Regions from separate parts of the Homo sapiens genome. Here all the other regions are linked to region 1. The links are contacts of gene promoters, found by promoter capture Hi-C in blood cells and fetal thymus (Javierre and others, 2016). All regions are on one chromosome and are shown on one strand. Each heading gives the region's core, a stretch centred on a gene start or on the middle of the fragment in contact. The rest is flanking DNA. Distances are from core to core; before and after follow the strand shown. Region 1 holds the start of COG1 (component of oligomeric golgi complex 1). Region 2 overlaps SLC39A11 (solute carrier family 39 member 11). Region 3 overlaps SLC39A11 (solute carrier family 39 member 11). Region 4 overlaps SDK2 (sidekick cell adhesion molecule 2).

What was found. The method cuts DNA at HindIII sites, captures the fragments that hold promoters and counts their contacts. A CHiCAGO score of 5 or more calls a contact.
Region 2: a contact is called between a fragment that was not itself captured here and the fragment with the promoter of COG1 in region 1, in 1 of 17 cell types (M0 macrophages). The highest score is 5.9, in M0 macrophages.
Region 3: a contact is called between a fragment that was not itself captured here and the fragment with the promoter of COG1 in region 1, in 1 of 17 cell types (M1 macrophages). The highest score is 5.1, in M1 macrophages.
Region 4: a fragment that was not itself captured here is called in contact with the fragment with the promoter of COG1 in region 1 in 2 of 17 cell types (total CD8 T cells and naive CD8 T cells); the score reaches 7.9 in total CD8 T cells.

What each region holds. Positions count from the first base shown.
Region 1 is chr17:73,189,693-73,195,641 of GRCh38, forward strand. COG1 (component of oligomeric golgi complex 1) reads left to right here and starts at 3,363. Exons shown (of 14, transcript NM_018714.3): 1 at 3,363-3,692. The coding sequence starts at 3,378. RefSeq lists enhancers at 2,590-3,349, 2,635-2,684, 3,315-3,594 and a silencer at 3,645-3,854. The HindIII fragment of the contact is 5,644 bases long and covers 2,076-5,949 here.
Region 2 is chr17:72,939,288-72,945,236 of GRCh38, forward strand. The region is part of intron 5 of SLC39A11 (solute carrier family 39 member 11); the gene reads right to left. Among named protein-coding and RNA genes, the nearest start is that of SLC39A11, 150 kb to the right of the region's middle. The HindIII fragment of the contact is 1,441 bases long and covers 2,489-3,929 here.
Region 3 is chr17:72,962,184-72,968,132 of GRCh38, forward strand. All of the region lies in intron 4 of SLC39A11 (solute carrier family 39 member 11), which reads right to left. Among named protein-coding and RNA genes, the nearest start is that of SLC39A11, 130 kb to the right of the region's middle. The HindIII fragment of the contact is 1,170 bases long and covers 3,191-4,360 here.
Region 4 is chr17:73,359,959-73,365,907 of GRCh38, forward strand. SDK2 (sidekick cell adhesion molecule 2) reads right to left here. Exons shown (of 45, transcript NM_001144952.2): 38 at 5,300-5,437; 39 at 1,726-1,887. Among named protein-coding and RNA genes, the nearest start is that of CDC42EP4, 51 kb to the left of the region's middle. RefSeq lists enhancers at 1,100-1,771, 3,589-4,564, 5,029-5,531. The HindIII fragment of the contact is 1,781 bases long and covers 2,738-4,518 here.

The DNA.
Region 1 (5,949 bases), core at 2,113-4,612:
GTCAGGTGACAGCTTCTGTCAGTGCTCAGTTCTGCAGGCAGAGGAACAACAGTGGCATCTTCAGGCCAGTCAGATGAACTTGGCCAGGGAAATACAGAGGAAAGGCAGGGAACACCCTGATTTCAAACCACACTCTGGACTAGGTGAGGTGGCTCACACCTGTAACCCGAGCACTTTGGGAGGCTGAGGTGGGAGGATCCCTCTAGCCCAAGAGTTTGAGACCAGCCTGGGCAACAGAGTGAGGCCCTGTCTTTACACAAAAATTAAAAAATTAGCCGGGCATGGTGGTGCACACCTGTTAATCCCAGCTACTAGGGAGGCAGAGGTGGGAGGATTGCTTGAGCCCAAGAGGTGGAGGCTTCAGTGAGCCGTGATTGCACCCCTGCACTCCAGCCTGGGCAACAGTGAGACCCTGTCTCAGAACACACACAAACACACACAGACACACACACACACTGCAGTGTTGACAGCTGGCCAGTTTGTCTTTTCTCTACCTGACTCAGAACACACACACACACACACACACACACACACACACACACTGCAGTGTTGACAGCTGGCCAGTTTGTCTTTTCTCTACCTGAGCTTACAGGTATTGTGCACAAGCGCAAGGACCATCCCATACAAAGCCCTGGGCCCCCCACTATCCCTGATATGTTGACATTTCTCCCCTTGCTGTAAGAAAGGCTTCAACCAAACTCTCATGGAGCTGGAACCTTAGTGCAGTGTATATCAGTTAGGGCTAGGGCAAACCAGGGAAACCGATTTTGATTTTCAAAGAAACAAAATTGATCAGTAAGACACTGCACAGTTCATAGAATCTCTGGGAAAGATGGGGAGGCAGGTTCAGGGGACAGGCAGGAAGGAAGGAAGGGAAACAGAACATTTAAAACCTAGACGAGCACACCACATGGTGATTCTGTCGAGGACGTCATTGTGGGTGCCCACGGCTGCCACCAGCACCACCGCCAGCATTAGCAGCTGGGAGCTGGAGCTAAGTTCACTGCCCTTGCTGTCCTTAGGGAGTGGATGTTGCCGGTGATACCTGTGCCACCACCAAAATGCAATCGCCCCTGTCACCTGCGATTTTTTTTTTTTTTTTTTTTTGAGACAGGGTCTTGTTCTGTTGTCTAGGCTGGAATGCAGTGGCCCAATCATGGCTCACTGACGCAGTCTCGACCTCCAGAGGCTCAAGTGATCCTCTTGCCTCACTTGCCTCTTGTCAAGTGGCTGGGACTACAGGTCCACAGGCCCACACCACTACTCCCGGCTAATTTTCTTTTTCTTTTTTTTTTTGAGACGGAGCCTCACTCTGTCGCTCAGGCTGGAGTGCAGTGTCTCGATCTCGGCTCACTGCAACCTCCGTCTCCCAGGTTCAAGTGATTCTCCTGCCTCAGCTTCCTGTCTGCTGCCTCAGCCTCCCGAGTAGCTGGGATTATAGATGTGCGCCACCACGCCCAGCTAATTTTTGTATTTTTAGTAGAGACAGGGTATCACCATGTTGGCCAGGCTGGTCTCGAACTCCTGACCTCATGTGATCCGCCTGCCTCGGCCTCCCAAAGTGCTGGGATTACAGGCATGAGCCACCCGGCGCGCGCCCCTTTTTTTGTATTTTTTTGTAAGGACGGGGTTTGGCCGTGTTGCCCAGGCTGGTCTTGAACTCCTGGGCTCAAGGGATCCACACGCCTTGGGCTCCCAAAGTGCTGGGATTACAGCCTGCTTCTTAATGTCACTAACTCTTCACCCAAGTCCTAGGCGCTTGTGCCTGCTGTGCCAGTCCCAGGCCGCAGGCTGGCACCGTAGCTATAAAGGGCGCCAGAAAAAAAGATTTTGCTAGATAGCGATGAATTCCCCAATCACAGAAAGGAGATACTGCGGATGCTTATCAGCCGAATACCAGTAAGTGTCCCTTGCAGAATGGGATTAGAGACTGCAAACTGCAGGCCTGCCAACAGAGGGTGCTCTGTGGGAAATTATGTGAAAACGTAGAAAAGAGCGCGAGCCAGTAATTTAAAAATCGACGTCCAAATACTCACTGGGTCACCTATCAGCTATGTAATTTGGGCAGGTAAATAAGCTTTTGTTTCTTTTTTTTTTTTCCTCATAAATGGACTAGGAATATTACTCCTACCTACCTGGCATGGCCGATGTGCGAGAAAATGAGATAATCTCGTGGACAGGCTCTGAAAACTGCACTTTTACTGAGTAAAAAACCCTTTGCCTCTCCGGGCCCCCGTTTCCCCATCTGTAAAATGAGTCTGTAAAGTGAGAATGATACTCCCTACGCCGCAAGGCTCTTGCGGGTTAAACTGGAATATTATAAATGCACCATTTATTTGCAGATTGAAATTCTGTGCGTCCGGAGGTGGCGGGTGGGAGAGGGAATGAGCAGGGATGCAGGGTAGGCCCTGAGTTGCTGGGGGCTCAGCATGGCCGCTGCGCACATTGCATCATTTTGTCGACACTGGTGTGGGTGAAATCTTCCAAAAGAAATTAAAACAGAAAAAAAAAAAAAGAAGGGTCTGGGACTTAGCAGAAACAAGCCACAATCTCCAGATTCTACTATTCCTGGGCCACGTGAGGAGCGCCCACCCGTCTGGCGCTGCGTTCCCCGGGGCGTCCCAGCCTCTCCCGCCCAGCCCGCCGCCCTCCTCCCCCATGGCCACCAAGGTCAGGCTCTCGCAGGGAAAACGTCTTCAGGGGCTAAACATCGGTTTTAAACGAAATGGAAAACCTCCAACACGAATCAACAGCAGAGGAAAAGCAGACGCCAAACAAGCGCTCAGAACCCCTTCAGGGGCGGCGTGGTAGCTCTTCCCGGGGAACAGCGAGGGGCGCGGATGTCCCTCTTCCTAAAACTGCACGCGGGGTGCGATCCGAGACCCAGCGGCGGCGAGCGCGCCCGAGTCTGCTCGCGGGCGCCAGGCGCGCGGAGAGCGGCGGCTGCGCCTGCGCCAACGCCGTCAGTCCGCGGGGCCCGATCCCGACACCTAACTCCACAGAGAAGCTCTGCTCCTAAGGGAAAGGGAAGACTTCAGCCACAGTTTCGCAGCCAACCTGGCGACCTCACCTCTCTGGCGACCTCACTTCCCAGCCGGCTCCGTTTAAGAAAACCCCGCGCAGGACCGCGCCCGCCCCCGCGCCCGCGCCCGCCCCCGCCCCCTCGCGCCCGCCCCCTCGCGCCCGCCCCCTCGCGCCCGCCCCCTCGCGCCCGCCCCCTCGCGCCCGCCCCCTCGCGCCCGCCCCCTCGCGCCCGCCCCCTCGGGTAACAAACATGGCCCCCGGCGGGGCGGAAGCGCTTCCGCCCCCAACGAAGATGGCGGAGGGGGCGGGACTAAAAGGGCGTAGGTAGATCGCCGGGGGCTGACGAGTGCACCATGGCCACCGCGGCAACCTCACCCGCGCTGAAGCGGCTGGATCTGCGCGACCCTGCGGCTCTTTTCGAGACGCATGGAGCGGAGGAGATCCGCGGGCTGGAGCGCCAGGTTCGGGCCGAGATCGAGCACAAGAAGGAGGAGCTGCGGCAGATGGTGGGCGAACGGTACCGCGACCTGATCGAGGCGGCCGACACCATCGGCCAGATGCGCCGCTGCGCCGTGGGGCTAGTGGACGCCGTGAAGGCCACCGACCAGTACTGCGCCCGCCTCCGCCAGGCCGGCTCGGCCGCGCCCCGGCCACCGCGGGCCCAGCAGGTCAGTCCCCGTGCCCCCACCCTGCGACCCGCAGGCGGGTCCCGGAGCCCCTGGCCTTGCAGGTCAACCCCGCCCCCCTCTGTCAGTCCCAGACCCCGCGAGTCCTCACCTTCCTTAGCCAGGAGCCTATCCGCCCCTCACCCTTTGGGCCCCCCTCAGAGGACAGTGCCAGCCTTCCTTGCACATATGCGGCTGCTGATCCGTTCTGGAAATGCCATTCAACAGTTTCTTCAGGCGCTTTCCCCCGACTTCCGGGCCTTGATTCCTACACCTCACTGGGCTCCTTTCAATTTTAGCGGAAAACGCCAGGAGTTTCTGTCTTGACAGTTCAACGCTCACCTATATAACATGTCCTGACATTGTTTTTCCTCAGGTTTCTCCCCTATGTTGACACCTGCACTCCAAGTCATTTCTTCCTCATCCCAACCTTCCCCTTATCTCCCCAAGAATAACTTCCACAACCCCAAATAGCTGTTCTACCCTTTGGGAGTTGTTGAGGGTACCAGCTATCAAGCCCTTAACTTTATGTATGTATGTGACAGGGTCTCCCAAAGTGCTGGGATTACAGTCATGAGCCACCACAGCCGGCCAAGCCCTTACCTTTTAATAGCTGAACATTTTCATTTTCAGAACTAAGGCTTTTTTCATTCAGGTTCTCCTTATCCCGTGTTCTTCCCCCCAAACGCTATTGATTAGACACAATGAGGAAGGATGGGAGGTAAACAAACACATCCTCATATTGGAGCTGCAGCTTGCGTTCCTAAAGAATTTTTATTGGCCGGGTGCGGTGGCTCACGCCTGTAATCCCAGCACTTTGGGAGGCCGAGGCGGGTGGATCACGAGGTCAGGAGATCCAGACCATCCTGGCTAACACGGTGAAACCCCGTCTCTACTAAAAATACACAAAATTAGCCAGGCGTGGTGGCCGGCGCCTGTAGTCCCAGCTACCTGGGAGGCTGAGGCAGGAGAATGGCATGAACCCGGGAGGCGGAGCTTGCAGTGAGCCGAGATCGCGCCACTGCACTCCAGCCTGGGCCACAGAGCGAGACTCTGTCTCAAAAAAAAAAAAAAAAAGAATTTTTATTTCTTTATTTTTTGAGACAGGATCTCGCTCTGTCACCCAGGCTGGAGTGCAGTGGCGCGATCTCGGCTCACTGCAACCTCCGCCTCCCGGGTTCAAGCGATTCTCCTGCCTCAGCCACCCGCGTAGCTGGGATTACAGGCACCTGCCACCATGTCCGACTAATTTTTGTACTTTCAGTAGAGACGGGGTTTCACCATATTGGCCCGGCTGGTCTCCAACCCCTGACCTCATGTGATCTGCCTGCCTTGGCCTCCCAAAGTGATGGGATTACAGGCGCGAGAGCCACCGCGCACGGCCCCTTAAAGAATATAGACCTAGCAATGAACGAAGTGAAAGGGCATGAAGGGTGAAAAAGGTAAACAGTTAGTTGTTTTTAACAGCCTGGGAGAACTTACTGGGACATAGAAGAAAAAATTGAAAAGTACAGTCTAACTCCAATTTGGAACTTGTTCATGCTATCTGAGCTTTACAGAAATCCTGGTCAGTAGACTGGACTGACACAATAAAACTATAGGAAGTTGCAAATAAGTTTGCATATTTTTGAAATGAGTGACCTCATCCCTCCCAAAGCTAACATTTAGTACACGTGTCCCCTTAGGTGGCCAGCCTTTGCTGTAACTGAGTCATGCTTCAGGGTTTATTAAAACGCTAACTTGAATTATGCCTGATTTTAGAAACGTATTGATTTTCATAGTTGTTATATCTGGTTTATTCTCGGTTAACCCTACAAAAATTTGAGTGTCTTCTTCGTTCACATTACAAAGAAACAGAAGTCCCCCAATTCCTGCTCTGAAGGAGCTTACAACCTGGTCGAGGAAATAAATCCATGGAAACTTGACGAGAAAAAAATGTAAAAAAATTTAGAATAACAGGTCAGGCGCTGTGGCTCATGCCAGCACTTTGGGAGGCCAAGGCAGGTGGATTGCTTGATCACAGGAGTTTGAAACCAACCTGGGCAACACGGTGAAACACCATCTCTACAAAAAATACCAAAAAGTGAGCGGGCATGGTGGCACATGCCTGTGGTCCCAGCTACTTGGAAGGCTGAAGTGGGAAGATCTCTTGAGCCCAAGAGGTCAAGGCTGCAGTGAGCCATGATCGCACCACTGCACCCCAGCCTGGGCAACAAAGTGAGATGCTGTCCCAAAAAAAAAAAAAAAAAAGGCTGGGCGC
Region 2 (5,949 bases), core at 1,959-4,458, 250 kb before region 1:
CCATCTTTACTAAAAATACAAAAATTAGCTGGGGGTAGTGGCGTACACCTGTTTCCAGCTACTCAGGAGGCTGAGGCAGGAGAACTGCTTGAACCCGGGAGGCGGAGGTTGCAGTGAGCTGAGATTGCACCACTGCACTCCAGCCTGGTGACAGAGTAAGGTTCCGTCTCGAAAAAAAAAAAAGAATATGACCTTACCTAGAAATTGGGTCTTTGCAGATGTAATTAGTTAAGAAGCAGTCATACAGGATTAAGTGAGCCCTAAATCCAATGACTGGTGTCTTTATGAGACAAAGGATACGGAGTTTTGGACATAGACACACTTCACAGACACACACAGGGACGAAGGTCACAATGTGGGCAGAGATTGAATTGATGCAGCTACAAGCCAGGAAACGCTGGGGGCCAAAAGAAGTTAGAAAATTTCCCTAGAATTTTCGAGAGAGTGTGGCCCTGCTGACACCTTGATCTCAGACTTCCGGCCTCCAAAACTGTAAGGGAATACGTTTCTGCTGTTTTAAGCAGCTCTGTATAGTACAAGATAACCATCCCTTCTCTGAAGGGACCAGAGTGTTTCAGATTTTTCAGATTTTGGAATATTTGCATTATTTTACTGGCATCATTTACCAGTTGAGCATCCCAAATCTGAAAATGTGAAATCCAAAATGTTCCAAGGAGCATTTCCTTTGAGCATCATGTCAGCGTTCAAAAGGTTTTGGATTTGGGAGCATTTCAGATCTTGGATTTTCAGATTTGAGATGCTCAATATGTACTTTGTTGTGACAGCAACAGGAAACTTACACAGTCAGGAGAGAACTTCTACACATTCAGATGTGTATTGCAATTATTTCCCCAGAAGTTAACTGAGCCGACTGTTTCAGGTGACAGTGGAAGCGGTCATCCCTTTAACGGTGCCATCCCTTTAACTTCATGATAGCATAGATGTACACCTGCCAGCAGTCTTAAAAGATCAGACTTAGAGCCATCTGACTTTTTTTTTTTTTTTGAGATGGAGTTTTGCTCTTGTCGCCCAGGCTGGAGTGCAATGGCGTGGTCTCAGCTCACTGTAACCTCTACCTCCCAGGTTCAAGTGATTCTCCTGCCTTAGCCTCCCACGTAGCTGGGATTACAGGCATGTGCCAACACGCTCGGCTAATTTTTGCATTTTTAGTAGAGACGGGGTTTCACCATGTTGACCAGGCTGGTCTCGAACTCCTGACCTTAGGTGGTCCACCTGCCTCGGCCTCCCGAAGTGCTGGGATTACAGGCGTGAGCCACTGCGCCCGGCCCTGACTTTCTTTCTCGCTGCACTCTTTGAGTAACTTTTCAACTTCATTCTACTCTTTTTTCATCCTGCATAGTCTGCATTCCCAGCCCATGCAGGTATGAGGCTAACGTAAGGAGGCAGCCATGCAGTGAGAGAATCTAGAAGGCAGAAACAAAGAGAACTCCTTTCTCCTGACACCTGGAATTCCTTGAAGCTAACTACTATCTCTGGAAGACAACTTCTCAAAAAATTGTTCAGCGCAACTATGGCCTGAATCACGTCCCCCGCTTCAAATTTCTATGTTGAAGTCCTAACGCCCAGTACCTAAGAATGTAACTGTAAGGGAGATAGGATTTTTAAAGTGTTAATAAGGTTAAAATGAGGTCATTAGAGTGGGCCCTAATCCAATATGACTGGTGTCCTTATAAGAAAAGGAGATTGGGACACCGACAGGCACAGAGGAAAGACCACGCTTTGGGAGGCCGAGGTGGGTGGATAGCTTGAGCCCAGGAGTTCAAGACCAGCCTGGGCAACACGGCAAAATGCCATCTCTACAAAAAAATACAAAAATTAGCCAGGTGTGGTGGCGCACTCCTGTAGTCCCAGCTACTCCGGGGGCTGAGGTGAGAGGATAGCTTGAGCCCAGGAGGTTGAGGCTACAGTGAGCCATGATCGCACCACTGCACTCCAGCCTGGGTGACACAGTGAGACTCTGTCTCGATAAAAAGACAGACCATGTGAAGCCACAGGGAGACGACAGCCATCTACCAGCCAAGGAGAAAGGCCTCAGAAGAAACCGACCAATCTTGCCAACTATTAGTCTTGGACTTCCAGCCTCCAGAACTGTGAAAAAAATAAATTTCTGCAGTTTAAGCCACCCGGTTTGTGGTATTTTGCTACAGCAGCCCTAGCAAACACATGTGAGTGCCAAATTGCCTCTAGCCTCATGCCACATGAAAATTTGCTCTGAAATTACTGCCTGGCTTAGAAAATCAGGACTGTGTTTTTTTTTTTTTTTAAAAGGCAGAAGCAGATAAAGTGCTATTTGAGTGCTCCATATTAGGCCAAATAGAACACTCTTCAGAAGCAAAAGACTCTATAAAGCGTACCCACCCTGATAATGTTCCCATGAGCTAGGACACTAACGGTCTCATGCTGCCTGCACAGATCCCTGTCCAAGAAGGTATCTCTGCATTGTTTATTTAATATCCAGATGCGAAAAAGCTTCTGGCAGTTATTATTATTGAGCCCTTTGCCCTCCTGCAAAATATTTTTGTGCGGCACATTTTAACGCTGGTTTGCTTCATTCTATTTATTTATTTATTTATTTATTTATTTATTTACTGAGACAGAGTCTCACTCTGTCGCCCAGGCTGGAGTGCAGTGGCACAATCTCAGCTCACTGCAGCCTCTGCCTCCTGGGTTCAAGTGATTCTCCTGCCTCAGCCTCCCAAGTAGCTATGATTACAGGCATGTGCCACCACGCCTGGCTAATTTTTGTATTATTATTATTTTTTTTTTAGTAGAGACAGGGGTTTCACCATGTTGGCCAGGCTGGTCTCGAACTCCTGACCTGAGGTGATCCACCTGCCTCGGCCTCCCAAAGTGCTGGGATTACACGTGCATTCTCACACTTCAAATGAAGAAACCCAGGTTACGGGTCTTAGCCCAGAAAGGAGGTAGCAGCCAGGGCCTACCTATTTTTCAGTTCCTAGATAACTCCTCTCAATTGGGCCAGGACAAGATTTTAAAGTCTCCCCTAACCAAGCAGGTACAGGGAAAAAAATAAATAAATAAAACTCTGATTGCCAAAACCACATGCCAAGAAATTATATCTACATGAACTGTTGTGAAAATACTCTTTCATTTTTAGAGATCTTACCAATAAAAAGTCAAAATTAATAACATCTCAGAGACTTCCCCAAACACATTATTTCGGAAACCTAGTTATAAACACTCAGAATTTCTCCTAGGAGTTACACCTCACTCTCGATCAAATTTAAGATCACTAAATTTGACTGGAAATATCAGTGACAAAAGGAACATGTCCTTCAGGAAGACATGGAAAGTTAGAAGATACAGAAAAAGAAAGGTAATAGGAACCATGAAGCTGTTTAAATAAGTCATCTTTGCTTCCGTAGGCTTAGGCTATTCCAAGCAGTTTTAGCGCCAAGGAAACTTGGGAGTGGAATGTACGTGGCTGAGCTTATAGCGAGAACCAGCTGCTTCAGAGAAGAGATTGCATCCCACACTGCCTGGCTGCCCTCCCTAAGCCCCACACATTATGTCTAAAAAAATGCAATCCTCCAAAGCCTAGCCAGTGTGAAAACCCACCTATTGGGTTCATTGTTGAACTAGAGAAACCGTTCCCAGTCAACAGACAAACACGTAAGCAGTAGTAAAACATGAAGTCAATGGGCCAATACCTCCCTGTTCTTCAGTTCATCAAATCTTTTTCCAAAGGCACCTAAGGGAGGATGTTTAACAGGGAAAATGGGAGAAAGGGATGATTCCAAATACAAGACTGAAAGAGGACACTGTGATACCTGGAGAAGAGAGAGTGTCTTGAGGTGGAAGAAGGGGATCAAAGAGCAACTGAACTCCATCGTGTTCCCGAACAGGACAAGCCCTGGGGTTGCTGATCCGGGGTTGGGCACTTGAGAAGCTTGAGCTAGAAAGGAAAATCATCTCCTGCAAGACCATTTCCACAGGAAGAGTGCCACGCAGCACATCAGAAGCAGAACCAATAAGGAATTCAAGATTTTAGAGTAGAAAACAAAGACACTCAGCTAATGGCCAGTGACTGCAGTTCTACAATCTATAATCCACTTGACACGAGCTTGGCATCAGTTTCATTTTGCAAAACATGGCTTTGATAATTGCATCAGATCTGCAAGGCTGTGTAGGCAGAATTCTTATTGCCAAGTGAATTTTCCTATAAGAATAGGGCATTAAGAGAAAAATCTGTTTCTTACCTGAGTGTCGTACGGCTTACGCTTCCCTGACTTGAGTACCCATTCACTTTTTCCCCCAACACTTCAGAAAGATTTACAGAAAATGCACAGATGGCACCTCACAACTGAATAATCTCCTAAAGTAAATCCACCTCTTGCTCTACCAGAAAATAATGCCTTCTCCTGGTCTTTCCACAGATACACAAAATGATAGGCAATTCTCCTATGCTAATAGACCGATGAAATTCACCAATAATAATAGTGATGACAAAGTTCACTAGTGAAGAGTATCTATAACTGCATCAGACCAATCTGGTTCAACTTTTATGTAACAAAGCTGTGAGCTGCTTTTCAGTTGCCATGGACCCTCAGGTCATGTAACCTAAGCATGCTCAGATGAACCAAGTGTACAACCACAGGGGGAACCTAAGTGCTGGGACAGAGGAGTGGGACTGAATTAAGAAGCAGACACCACATGGCAGGATCCAGGATCCAATGAGATTGAACTCTGGCATCACCCCATGACAGGATCCAATCAGATAATGCCTCCTAACGTCACCTCATTGCAAGATCCAATCAGATCACACCTCATTACTTATGCTTATAAAACCCAACCCAACCCCCAGCTCAGGGAGACAGATTTGGGCATTCCCTCCTGTCTCCCTGCCAGTTGACTTGACTCCCAATAAAGCTGTTCTTCTCTCAAAAGCCAGTGCCACGGTATTGGCCTCTGTGTGCATCGGGCAGCAAGCCCACTGATGCTTGGTAACATTTCAACTTCCTCCCCCAGAACATACTGCATATTTAAATGGGGAAATTAACAATTAGTAAGAGAATCAACTGATTCACTTTTAACTACCTTCTCTTTAGCCTACAGAGGATGCTATGAAGAAAAGAAAAAAAACTCAACTTGACAGCTGAGTGGGGACAACTGAGACAGAGAAGCCCAAGATCTTGAACAACACTGGGTGTATGCAGCCATCTGGGGTGTGATGAAATATAACTTATAGTCCCTTGCCTTTCAAACACACACACACACATACACACACACACAGACTTTGCATAAAATGCAAGAGGCTCGTGAGTCCTTTGGTACTCATGCATGGAGCCCAGACATAAAGAACTCCTGGCCTCATTTCTAGAATTTACTCAACAATATAACTGTCCACAGAGATGTAGATACTAAAATGCTCTGTGCCACATTCTTTGCAATAGCAAAGCATCAGAATTAACCCCATGGGCATCCAGAGAGGGCTAATTAGGTAGCATCATGGCCAATAACAAGAATGGGATGGATCTATGAGCACCTCAGGAAAAAAACACCCAAGGGTACCGTTAAGTGCAAAAACATATGATACAGAACAATGGGTCAGGTGTGATTATAGAAACATGATAATTCTGAAAGGATGCACAAGAAACTAGAAACGATGTTTGTGTCTGAGATGGGGGGACTAGACCATAAGGGATTTGAAGGTGGAAGAAAAATTACTTTTAACCGATGTCATTATATTTTTAATTAAAAGAAAGCTAATTGGAGATGGATGGATGGATGGATGGATGGATGGGAGAGAGAATGAAAGAAAGAGAGACTGATAGATTTAAAGGAACTTCTTCTGGCCTACCTAAGTCCCAAAATATCCCCAGCCTTGAGAATAGCTGATATCAGAAAACATTGCACACTAAGACCTAAATAGGAAAGTATCTCATAAATGCTTTTCCCAGCTCAGGC
Region 3 (5,949 bases), core at 2,526-5,025, 230 kb before region 1:
ACCAAATTGAGACATACACCATGCCTGGATAAGATTGTCACTGCTGCATGAAGAATTACCACAAGTCCAGAGGCCTCAAACAACACTCCTTTTTCACCACCGTTTCCATGGGGCCAGAGTCCAGGGATCGGTGCAGCTAGGTCCTCTGCTCAGAGTCCCACAGGCTGAAATGAAGACAGTGGCTGGGGCTTTGATCTCCTCTGAGGCTCAGGGTCCTCTTCCAAGCATATTGGCTGTTGTAAGAATTACGTTTCTTGCAACTAAGAAGGATTCAGGTCCCTATTTTCTTGCTGGCTTCAGGCTGGTGACCTCTCTCTGTTCCTAGAGGCTGCCCTTGGGTTTTGGGGGTTTTTTGCTAATTTTTTTTTTCTGAGATGAAGTCTTGCTCTGTTGCCCAGGCTGGAGTACAGTGGCCCGACCTTGGCTCACTGTAACCTCTGCCTCCCGAGTTCATGCAATTCTCCTGTCTCAGCTTCCCAAGTAGCTGGGACTACAGGCACACGCCACCACACCTGGCTAAGTTTTGTATTTTTAGTAGAGACGGGGTTTCATCACATTGGTGAGGCCGGTCTCGAACTCCTGCCCTCAGGTGGTCCACCCGCCTCAGCCTCCCAAAGTGCTGGGATTACAGGCGTGAGCCATCGGGCCCGGCCAGCCCTTAGGTTCCTGACAAGTGTCTGCCTCTACGGGGAGTCAGCTCCATAAAGAGCTGGCTATATGACTATAAGCCACACAGCTGTTAGCTTCTGCAAGACCAGCAGGAGACTTCTCTCTCACTTCAAGTCTCTCTGACCTCAAGGAAGGCCCACTCTCTCTTTTAAGGGCTCACCTCACTATGCCAGGCCCACCCAGGATAATCTCCCTTTCCATGGAGTCAAGTCAAGAGACTGATAACCTGATCAGTAACTTAATGGGACTTAATTCCCATCACAGGGAGGGGCTTCTAGGGCACACACACCATGGGGTATAATTCTTTTTTTCCTTTCTTTTTTTTTTTTTTTTTTTGAGATGGAGTCTCACTCTGTCCCCCAGGCTGGAGTGCAGTGGTGCGATCCCAGCTCCCTGCAAGCTCCGCCTCCCGGGTTCACGCCATTCTCCTTCCTCAGCCTCCAGAGTAGCTGGGACTACAGGCGCCCGCCACCACGCCCGGCTAATTTTTTGTATTTTTAGTAGAGACGGGGTTTCACCGTGTTAGCCAGGATGGTCTTGATCTCCTGACCTCGTGATCCGCCCACCTCAGCCTCCCAAAGTGCTGGGATTACAGGCGTGAGCCACCGCGCCCGGCCACTGTGGGGTATAATTCTTAAGGGCCATCTCAGATCTCCACCTACCACCACATATCTGTTTAGAAAAAACTCTCTCCCTGACATTTCTAGCACGTTGACATTTCTAGGGTCTAAATGTACCCTTAGGAAACTAATTCTGGAGCCATGTGTTATGAATAAGATGTAGCGCTCCACCAATTTTTTTATGGCACAAACTTACAATCAAAGCTCCAAACTCATAGGAGGAATCCCATTTCTTCTGATACATCAATAAATGACAACAAGTCATTATATAGTTGAGGTTCTGCCTGGCAAAGGCTTCAGCTCAGCCATCCAGGGAAGATATCTGTGTTGGCCTCAGGGGCAAAAGCAGCATTAGGCACAGGAGACGCAATGTCCAGTAGCCCACCTTTAGGGACCCATGAACAGTTTTAATTTCTTCTCAAATCAGAAGAAAAAATAACAACTACATGATAATGAATCCAGCCTAGATTATATTCATCCTTATACCAACACAGCTGCAAAATATAAGTTTTAGTCTTTTTTTGTGGAGAAAGGAGCCCAGAAAGGCAAAAGCTGCTAGGACCCCCAAAAGTACAAAGGTGGCTCTGCTAGTGGCGCCCCCCGAGGTACACACGAGTTTTCCTCGTACGATGCAAGTGCCATGGCTATTCCAAAGGGCACCTGAGCCAGTCTCAGAAAGAGACTTTAGTCAAGACTCTGATCCTCCAGTGCTGACCTTTGGGCTAAGCAACAAATGAAGATAGTTCCCAGACCACTGCAGGACAGAATTAATATGCTAATTTGCTTAATGAGAACAAATTAACCTAAAGTTACAAACACAGGGCTAATGAAGCCACATGTGGTCCCTGGATGAGCTGCGTAGTTTTGTTTGGATCCATGGTTACCTTGGCCTCCCGGTCCGCATCAGCCACCTAACAGCTGTAAGCTGATGGCCTCCAGGGAGATGTAAGGGTATAAATGAAACAATTAAAATCCTCCTCAAATGCCAGAAAACAGGCATAAAACTATTATCAGCAATATCAATAGGATTATCATCCTGTTTAAAAACAAAGGAAGAAGGAAAAAGAAGAAATTGAAGTAAAAGACTGTAAATTGGGAATGGGCGTGACACTCAATGTTCTGAGGTAAGTGCTAGTGTGAGATACTTGGCCATTAGTATGAAACCAGGTAGAGTATGCCAACAACTGTAAACTAGTTCAACCATTGTGGAAGACAGTGTGGCAATTACTCAGGGATCTAGAACTAGAAATACCATTTGACCCAGCCATCCCATTACTGGGTATATACCCAAAGGACTATAAATCATGCTGCTATAAAGACACATGCACACGTATGTTTATTGCGGCACTATGCACAATAGCAACGACTTGGAACCAACCCAAATGTCCATCAATGATAGACTGGATTAAGAAAATGTGGCACATATACACCATGGAATACTACGCAGCCATAAAAAAGGATGAGTTCATGTCCTTTGTACGGACACGGATGAAGCTGGAAACCATCATTCTCAGCAAACTATCACAAGGACAAAAAACCAAACACTGCATGTTCTCACTCATAGGTGCGAATTGAACAATGAGAACACTTGGACACAGGAAGGGGAACATCACCGGGGCCTGTTGTGAGGTGGGGGAAGGGGGGAGGGAAAGCATTAGGAGATATACCTAATGTTAAGTGACGAGTTAATGGGTGCAGCACACCAACATGGCACATGTATACATATGTAACAAACCTGCACCTTGTGCACATGTACCCTAGAACTTAAAGTATAATTTAAAAAAAAAGAAACTGGAATAAAACATCTCTAAAGGTTGAAAAAAAAAGCTGGAGGAAATATGGGACTAGAAAAATGCTGAGATGGATAAAAGTATGGACGATCCCTGGTTTCTGGCGTTTCAAGCTTTTTTGACTTTACAACGGTGCAAAAGTGATATGCATTCAATAGAAACTGCACTTTGAATACCTATACAACCGTTCGGTTTCTCAATTTCAGTACAATATTCTGTAAGTTTCATGAGGTATTCAACACCTTATTATAAACTAGGCTTTGTGTTAGATGATTTTGCCCAACTGCAGGCTAATGTAGGTGTTTTGAGCACGTTTAAGGTAGCTGGGCTAAGCTATGATGCTCAGCAGGTTCGGTGTATTAAATGCATTTTTGACTTACAGTATTTTCAGCTATGATAGGTTTATTGAGATGTAATCCCACTGTAAGTCAAGGAGTATCTCCAAAAGGAAGGAGGTGAGGCTTAATGTGTGGAAAAGATACCAGGATGGAAGACCAGAAAATCATGCAGGGAGATACAAGGTGCCACACCATGCCAACAGCTGAGAAATCTGAACAGAGAGGAAGTTCTGCTGTTAGATACCTGACCTTGTCACTTCAACTCTTGTTCATAAAACTAGGGAATTCAGACTGAATAGTCCCTGAAGCCTGCTCTATACCAAACCATCCACAAACCTACAAATTTCTAGAAAAAAAGACACCAACTCCCATTCCATGGAAGAGAAAATGGCTCCAACCCCTCCCCATAAGTTTCCAAGCCACTTGTAGAAGTCGTAGCACACCTTGAGGAAAAGAGCCCTTGGCTGCAAGGCAGGTCTTCATTCTGCTGAACCAGGGTGACAGGCCCAGCTGAGGGCAACGCAGCCACTGAAAACCCACAGGGCATCCAAGGGAGGCGCAGGCTGGCACCCCTGCTGGCCTGGGTGGTGCTGCCTTTCTCAGTCAGAGGTTCCCTGTGGGAACATCACATCCAGTGGGTTCCAGAGAGGAAGAACTCTCAGCAAAGGTGAAGGTTTAAACTGAGAAAATTGTGACCTCCACGCAAGCCGGCCCAGGCTCTTTCGGGTGTGGGCATTCCTCCTACAAAGATTATCTGTTGAGAATTACTACCGCCCCCCACAGAGGGAGGCTTAGCACATATACTCAGGTGAAAGATGGGAATGTTCTGGAAGTGATAGTAGTTTCAGAAATTAACAGATCTTCTAGGGCAGGGGTCCCCAATCCCCAGGTCACAAACCGGGCCGCACATCAGGAGGTGAGCAGCAGGGGGTTGAGGAAAGGAAGCTTCATCTGTTTTTTTTTGTTATTGTTGTTGTTCTTTTTTTTGAGACGGAGGCTCGCTCTGTCGCCCAGGCTGGAGTGCAGTGGCGCGATCTCTGCTCACTGCAAGCTCCACCTCCCGGGTTCACGCCATTCTCCTTCCTCAGCCTCCCGAGTAGCTGGGACTACAGGCGCCCGCCACCACGCCCAGCTAATTTTTTGTATTTTTAGTAGAGAGGGGGTTTCCCCATGTTAGCCAGGATGGTCTTGATCTCCTGACCTCGTGATCCGCCCGCCTCAGCCTCCCAAAGTGCTGGGATTACAGGCGTCAGCCACCACGCCCGGCCGCTTCATCTGTATTTACAGCCACTCCCCACTGCTGGAATTACTGCCTGAGCTCCACCTCCTGTCAGATCAGCAGCGGCATTAGATTCTCAAAGGAGCATGAGCCCTATTGTGAACTGTGCATGCAAAGGATCTAGGTTGCGCGTTCCTTATGAGAATCTAATGCCTGATGATCTGTCACCGCCTCCCATCACCCCTAGATGGGACCACCTCGTTGCAGGAAAATGAGCTCAGGGCTCCCACTGATTGTCCATTATGGTGAGTTATATAATCATTTCATTATAGATTACAATGTAACAATAATAGAAATAAAGTGCACGATAAGTGTAATATGCTTGAATCATCCCACAACCATCCATCCCCCGCTCTGTAGAAAAATTGTCTTCCATGAAACTGGTCCCTGGTGCCAAAAAGGCTAGGGACTACTATGCTAGAGTGAGATATTATACCTTTTTATTATAAGAAAACACCCTCATGAGAAGAAAATGCTATATAAGCATGCTCAGAGAGAGAGAGAGAGAGAGAGAGAGAGAGTGTGTGTGTGTGTGTGTTTTCCTTTTATCTAGAAGACCAGCTCCTAAGCATATCCTGGGAGCCATCCTAAAACCAGCCTCCACACCAGAGTGCCCGCCCAGGAAGCAGGCAAAAGAGGGTGGTATGTCCACAGGTCCCTGGAGGGTTGGGCTAACTTAAGCTAGGAAAATCAAAAGCATCCCTTCCCAAGCAGGAAAAATAATCCGTGACGAAAAGCTCCAACAGCCAGAGGAGAGAGTGCTTTGCAAAAAACACAAACCCATCAGAGGCAAAAGGTACTGATTGCTTTTCTCTGACATGTATCTTCAGCTGGAGCAATGCACAAAGCATTCGCACTGTGCACCTTCAGAGTGGATGCTCCAGGCCAGCAAATCAGCCTCAGATTAATGTTGAGAGCCGCTGGAGAGCTCATCACTGCCAGGACATGAGGGATCAACTAGGGAGGTTAATAACTGTGCCCAGCCCCTTAACAGCAGAGCTAAGGAGGGCGCTTTCCTCTCTGCAGTCTCAGTTCTTTTCCACCCTCGGTTGTTACAATTGTCTACACGTGGAGAACTAATAGCATTCACCACCCCCTCTCCTCCACCCCAGACCCCAGCCTCCTTCTTCTCCACCTCCTGACAGCATCAGCCCCCATCCAACCTGTAACATCATCCTGCATCCCGGCCTGGGAGCAACAAGGAGAAAAGATTGTGTTCCCTTGTGGGCCTGGAAAGCAATGTTTGTTTTTGG
Region 4 (5,949 bases), core at 2,378-4,877, 170 kb after region 1:
AGTGCCCTCCACTACCTTCTCTGAACCCTCTGCCCTTTATCTCCTCCCACCTCCCCACCTCTCAGCCTGGGACACTTCAAGCCTCAGGATAGAACAGCCTGTCCTCCGCACAGCCCTCTCCTGTCCCCAGGCCACTGCCAACGCTTGGTCCTCAGTTGCTTGCCAGCTCTCTCTCCTACTTTTGTTTCCCAGGAAGCTGGCTCAGGTGAGAGGCAGCGCGGGGCGGGGCTGGAGGCAGATGAAAGGACAGCGGCTGGGTGGCTCCTGGGCTGCCTCCTGCAGGCTTTGTCCTGAGTTTGCCCTAGAGCTACAGGGCTTCTTTGCAGAACCAGACTGTGGGGAATAGAAAGTGACTGGCCAGAAAGAAAAAGTGAAGCGCAGCCAGACTAAGCCATTAGGGGAAGACTCTCTTCCTGAGTCAGGCTAATTGGGACTGCTGGGGAGGGGAGGCCTGCGCCATTCTTGGCTGAAGGGGGTGGGCAGAGGAGGAGATGGGATTTTAGGGGAAGTCCAGGATGGGCTGTACCCCTTCTTAGGGAGGGAGGCAGCAGAGTGGTCTGGGAGGTGACTTTTGTGTTCAGGACAGGACATTCTACACTGACCAGTAACAGGGACTTTGGAGGGCTAAACCTTGACCATGGCAAATGCCTGGGGGGATGAGGGGTGGGAGGGGAAGGGAGGTGAAGAGGACATTTAAAGGAGGCGATTGGGCACAGTGGCTCATGCCTGTAATCCCAGCACTTTGGGAGACTGCAGCAGGTGGATCACTTGAGGTCAGGAGTTGGAGACCAGCCTGGCCAAACCCTGTCTCTACTAAAAATACAAAAATTAGCTGGTCGTGGTAGAAATCACCTGTAATCCCAGCTACTTGGGAGGCTGAAGCTTGAGAATTGCTTGAACCCGGGAGGTGGAGGTTGCAGTGAACTGAGATTGCACCACTGCACTCCAGCCTGGATGACAGAGCGAGACTCTGTCTCCAGAAAAAAAAAAAAAAAGCCCAAACAACAACAACAGAAACAATACAGGAGATTAAGGAAGACTTCCTGGGGTGAGGGGCGGGCAGTTACACACAAAAGGGCGTTCTGCGGAGGGGGTGGGTGGTGAGGTGGGGGAGGCAGGGCCCTGGCTGTGAATAGGTGACCTGCTCCATCAGGTGTTTCTCAAGGTGCCACTTTGTCACGGCCTCCAGGGGCTTTTGTCTAAGTGCAGACTGCCAGGTCCCACCTCAGCCCCAGGAAATCAACCCCTCGGAGCATCCACCCTGGGAACGTGCATTTTAGTGCGCCCTGCTCTGAGAACCGCTGCCTGGAGGGTAGGGGTGGTTCAGGGGCGTGGGAAGATGGCTCTGGCTGGGCGAAAGGCAGGGGCACCTGCCAGGCTGCATCCTTCCAGGACGGAAGTAAAGGAGGCCATGCAATTAGCAGGGAGAGAAAGAACGAAGCAGGCGCAGTGGCCAGGCCAGGCCTGTGGGCTGGGCCTAAGTGGGAGAGGAGGGGGCGCTGCTCCAGGGTTTGTGGCTTGAGGAACCTGAGGACACATTAATCAAAGCGTGGAGCCCGGGAGGAGGGAGCGGGGGGAGGGGTCACTGGGCACCAGGGGAAAGAGTGAGCTCTGTCCTCCACTCTGTTTCCAGGGTCCAGCACAGCTCTTGACACCGGGGGCCCCTTCTGACTGGGGACGCTGAACCGCCGTGTGGAAGACATGCCTGGTCCGTTGCTCTCCTACCTTCTCCGGGGCCCGTGGTGACGTTGGCTTCGATCTCCGGCCCGTAGGTGAAGGTCTTGGCTCTGATGCGGAACCTGTAGGTCACCCCCTCCGCCAGGTCCTTCACCTTCAGCCACAGGGGGCTGTTCCCCTTCACGTCCACGGTCACGATCTTGCTGACTCCTGGGGGAGGCACAGCAAGTGGGGACTGGGCACAGGGCCCACCGAGGGCACTGGAGGCCATGGGGAAGGGGAAGCGGCCGTGGCCTGGGCCCCGGGACCCTGGGTAGGGGCCTCACTCCTTGAGGTCAGGCTGAAATGCACCCCCAGCCCACACAACCACATTGCCCATGCTGTGTTTCTCACAGCACGGTCCTGCCTGCTGTTCTCAGGGAGAACGGCTCCATGGTTCAGTATGTTTGGGAAAAGCTACTACTGTCTGTGTCTACTGAGTAGCCACAGGGTCCATCATCAGCATCTACAGAAAAGAGAACACTCGCCATCCTGTTTAATGTAACCTCTGCACCCCAAATATGTTTCGGCTCCATTGCTATTCCCTTATGCAGCATCCCATGGGACTAGAATTATATCCTTTTTCAGGAAGTGCTTCCATAAAAATACCAAAAGCCCAGAGTTGCGGGGACACACTTTTGACCAGGTCCTCCACCTGAGCCCCACTCCAGCTCCACCTCTGGGGTTCAGCCAGGAGCTCACATGGCCCTCCAGCACCTATATCTGCCACAATTTTTTTTTTTTTTTTAAGACAAGGTCTTGCTCTGTTGCTCAGGCACAATCATGGCTCACTGTAGCCTCGACCTCCTGGGTTCAAGCCGTCCTGCCACTTTCAGCCTTCCAAGTAGCTAAGACTGTAGGTGTGCACCATCATGCCTGGCTAATTTTTAAATTTTTGTAGAGACAGGGTCTCATTATGTTGCCCAGGCTGGTCGCGAACTCCTGGCCTCAAGTGATCCTCCCACCTTGGCCTCTCAAAGTGCTGGGATTATAGGCATGAACCACTATGCCCAGTCCACCAAGCTTTTTAGGGCAAAAGTGAGGATGCCTCAGCACCCCAAATCACAGCAACTAGAGGGGACGCTTGAGCCAGCTTTCAGGAGGTGGGGGTTTGCACTCTGTGCTTCGCGAATCCAAATACTCCTGACTGCCAGCCTCCCTGGGAGCCGGGGTTAGTGTCATTTCCCATGTCCATCGAGCACGCCAGTCACCAGTGAAAGACAGGCCTTGCAGCCAATAGGCTGGGCTCAGACCCAGTGATGGCGCCGGCCCCGGCATGTCCCTTAACTTGGCTTCAGTTTGTTCTGCCGAGTGAGGGTGTCCACAGCATCTTAGGCAGGGATGCTATGAGCTTTAAGTAAAATAACAGAGCATGTAGGTGCCTGACCTATTTATTGACTAAGTGGATTACTAATATTATCGTTTTGAGGTGGATTTTCACTATTGTTGCCCAGGCTGGAGTGCAATGGCGCGATCTCAGCTCACTGAAACCTCCGCCTCCTGGGTTCAAGCGATTCTCCTGCCTCAGCCTCCCGAGTAGGCGTCCACTACCACACCCAGCTAATTTTGTATTTTTAGTAGAGACAGGATTTTGCCACGTTGGTCAGGCTGGTCTCGAACTCCTGAACTCAGGTGATCCACCGCCTCGGCCTCCCGAAGTGCTGGGATTGCAGGTGTGAGCCACTGCACCCGGCCGCTAAGTGGATTACTAAATGATGGAACAATGTAGGCTCAGAGGGGCTTCCTGAAAGAATGAAATGACCCTGGGACCAGGAACAGGGACTCTGGCTACCTGCTCCTTGACAATTCTGAACAAAGCCCTCATCTGCCTGGACCTTGGTTTTCCCTACAGGACAGTGGGGGCTGCTGGGCTTTTGTGAGGCTGGTTTGCTATTGACCTGAACCCAGGATGAACTGGGGTGTGGACACTGGGCTGTCCAGGCGGGGCCTTGTCTTGCTGTACTTATTAACTGAACTATTATGGGAAGATGGGAATGTGTAGGGGTGTGGAGTTGAGCCACACAGTCCAGATCCCACCAGACTGTGGAATTGGAAGGCAAAGAGCTCACATCCTCAAGTTGAGAGGGTCCTGGACAGGCCAGGTTGAGGCCCCTGTGAAGAGGGCTTGTGCTGGCCCCCTGTACCTTGTCTCGGGGACTGCTGTCCTCTGCCCCACTCCGGCCCTGCACCTGACTGGATCTCCTGCTGGGGCCTGGCTCCCCCCTGGTGTTCTAACACACAGCTCCCCTTTGCAGAACGAGCTGCTGGCACCCAGGTGGTAGCAGGGAAGACTGAGGGCCATTGTTCCCTAGGCTCACCGAGAACTGCTGGTCACAACGATGTTCCCAGGTCTCTGCCCCTTGTTCTTGCCAGGCTCCGTGATTGGAGGGGGTGAGAGTGAGAGGGGTGGCTCCAGAGGTCAGCCACACCCCCAGCACCTGGCTGGGACTAGTCCCAGGCAGTGAGGAACGCAGTTTCCTTCCTGCCTAAATCCCATCCTCATAGGATGGTTGTTCATAACAAAATGGCAGGGATTTCTTGGCATGTTACCAGGGGTAGAAAGCTGGCAGGTACCAGATGCCCATTGTCAGGGGCTGCGCAGCCCAGCCTAGGAGCCCAGAAATGGGCAGGTTCCCAGCTGGGGCCCGGAGGAAGGGGTCAGAAGACCAGTCAGATGAACAGGGTTAAGGACAAGAGCGAGGTCATTTGCAGAGCAGGGCTCTTGATCTGGGGTCCGCAGATAGCAGTGGGGGGTGCAGGGACCTCCTTGGTCTTGTGTATCTTCCTGGGGAGAGGCTCTGAAGCTTTGGTCAGATTCTCATCAGATTCTCCAAGGGGTTCCTGACTCCCACCAAAGCTAAAGAAGGACTAACCCACAGTAAAGCTGAGAACCCTAAGGTTTGGGAAAGGGCAAAGTAGGACCCTCAGGGGCTCCCCTCTTCTTTTTCTTTTCTTTTTTCCTTTTGAGATGGAATCTAGCTCTGTCGCCCAGGCTGGAGTGCAGTGGCGTGATCCCGGCTTACTGCAACCTCTGCCTGCCGGGTTCAAGCGATTCTCCTGCCTCAGCTTCCCGAGTAGCTGAGACTACAGGTACCCACCACCACACCCGGCTAATTTTTGTATTTTCAGTAGAGACGGGGTTTCACCATGTTGGCCAGGCTGGTCTTGGAACTCCTGACCTCAGGTGATCCACCCGCCTCAGCCTCCCAAAGTGCTGTCATTACAGGCGTGAGCCACCGTCCTTGGCTGCCCCCCTTCTTTATGGTCTCAACAGAGCCCTGTCCACTCAGGTTTCCCTTCCTTTCCTCCCTGTTTCCGTTGACCAAAGGGGGAAGAATATATTTAACGATTCTCTGCCTGGAAGTTAGGAGACCTGGATCTCTCTTCCAACTCTGCCCTCAACTTGCTGTTGTTTTACCTTGGAAATGCACTTTCCCTTGTCTGGGACTCAGTTTCCGTGTTTATAAGATGGGGAGACTCTCACCGAATCTCACTCATGTGTAGTGGCTGTGATGGGCGCTGAGATGAGAGCGAGCTTTTGCAAAGTGGGGGGCTGGGGAGCTGTGCTGGGGGGTCCACTCACCATCCACGGGGCTGCAGGGCTCGTACACCAGCCTGTAGCCCTCCAGGATGCCATTGGGGAACTGCGGGGCTTCCCAGGACACATTCACTGAGGTTGTGGTCAGCTCACTGAACTTGACCGAGCTGGGAGCGCTGGGGGCTGCGGGAGACAGCAAAGGGTTTTTGTTTCCTTCTTCTGTGGAAGTTCAAAGCCTCGGGTTCAGCTCCAAGGAGCTAGCGGGAGTATTGGGTCTGAGCCCGGGAGGAACAAGAGCGTGGGGCTCGGCAGAAAGGGCGGGCAGGAGGGGTCACTGGAGGCCATCAGGCCCCCTTCCTCTCCTCTCTCAACTTTCCAGTATCAGAGTCCTAAGAACTGGGAAGAAAGAGAACTCGATTTTTCCCTCAAGTTGCAGAATTCAGGCTTCTCCCTGCTAAGTGGCTCTGAGCCCGGGCTATGAGTGTGGGACAAGCTGTCACACCCCCGGGGTCATCGTGGGGCAAGGCCATTTCCTGGCTTTGCGGGGTTCGTCTTTTGGCTTTCGTGGAGAAGGTGGGGGTGTCTGGGCCTCAGAATATTCGGTAGGCGCTAAACAAAGAAGACACCAGAACCACAGCAGACGGAGATGGCCTTCCTCTCCTCCTGGGGCTCCAGGGCTTGTCACAGAGGCCCCA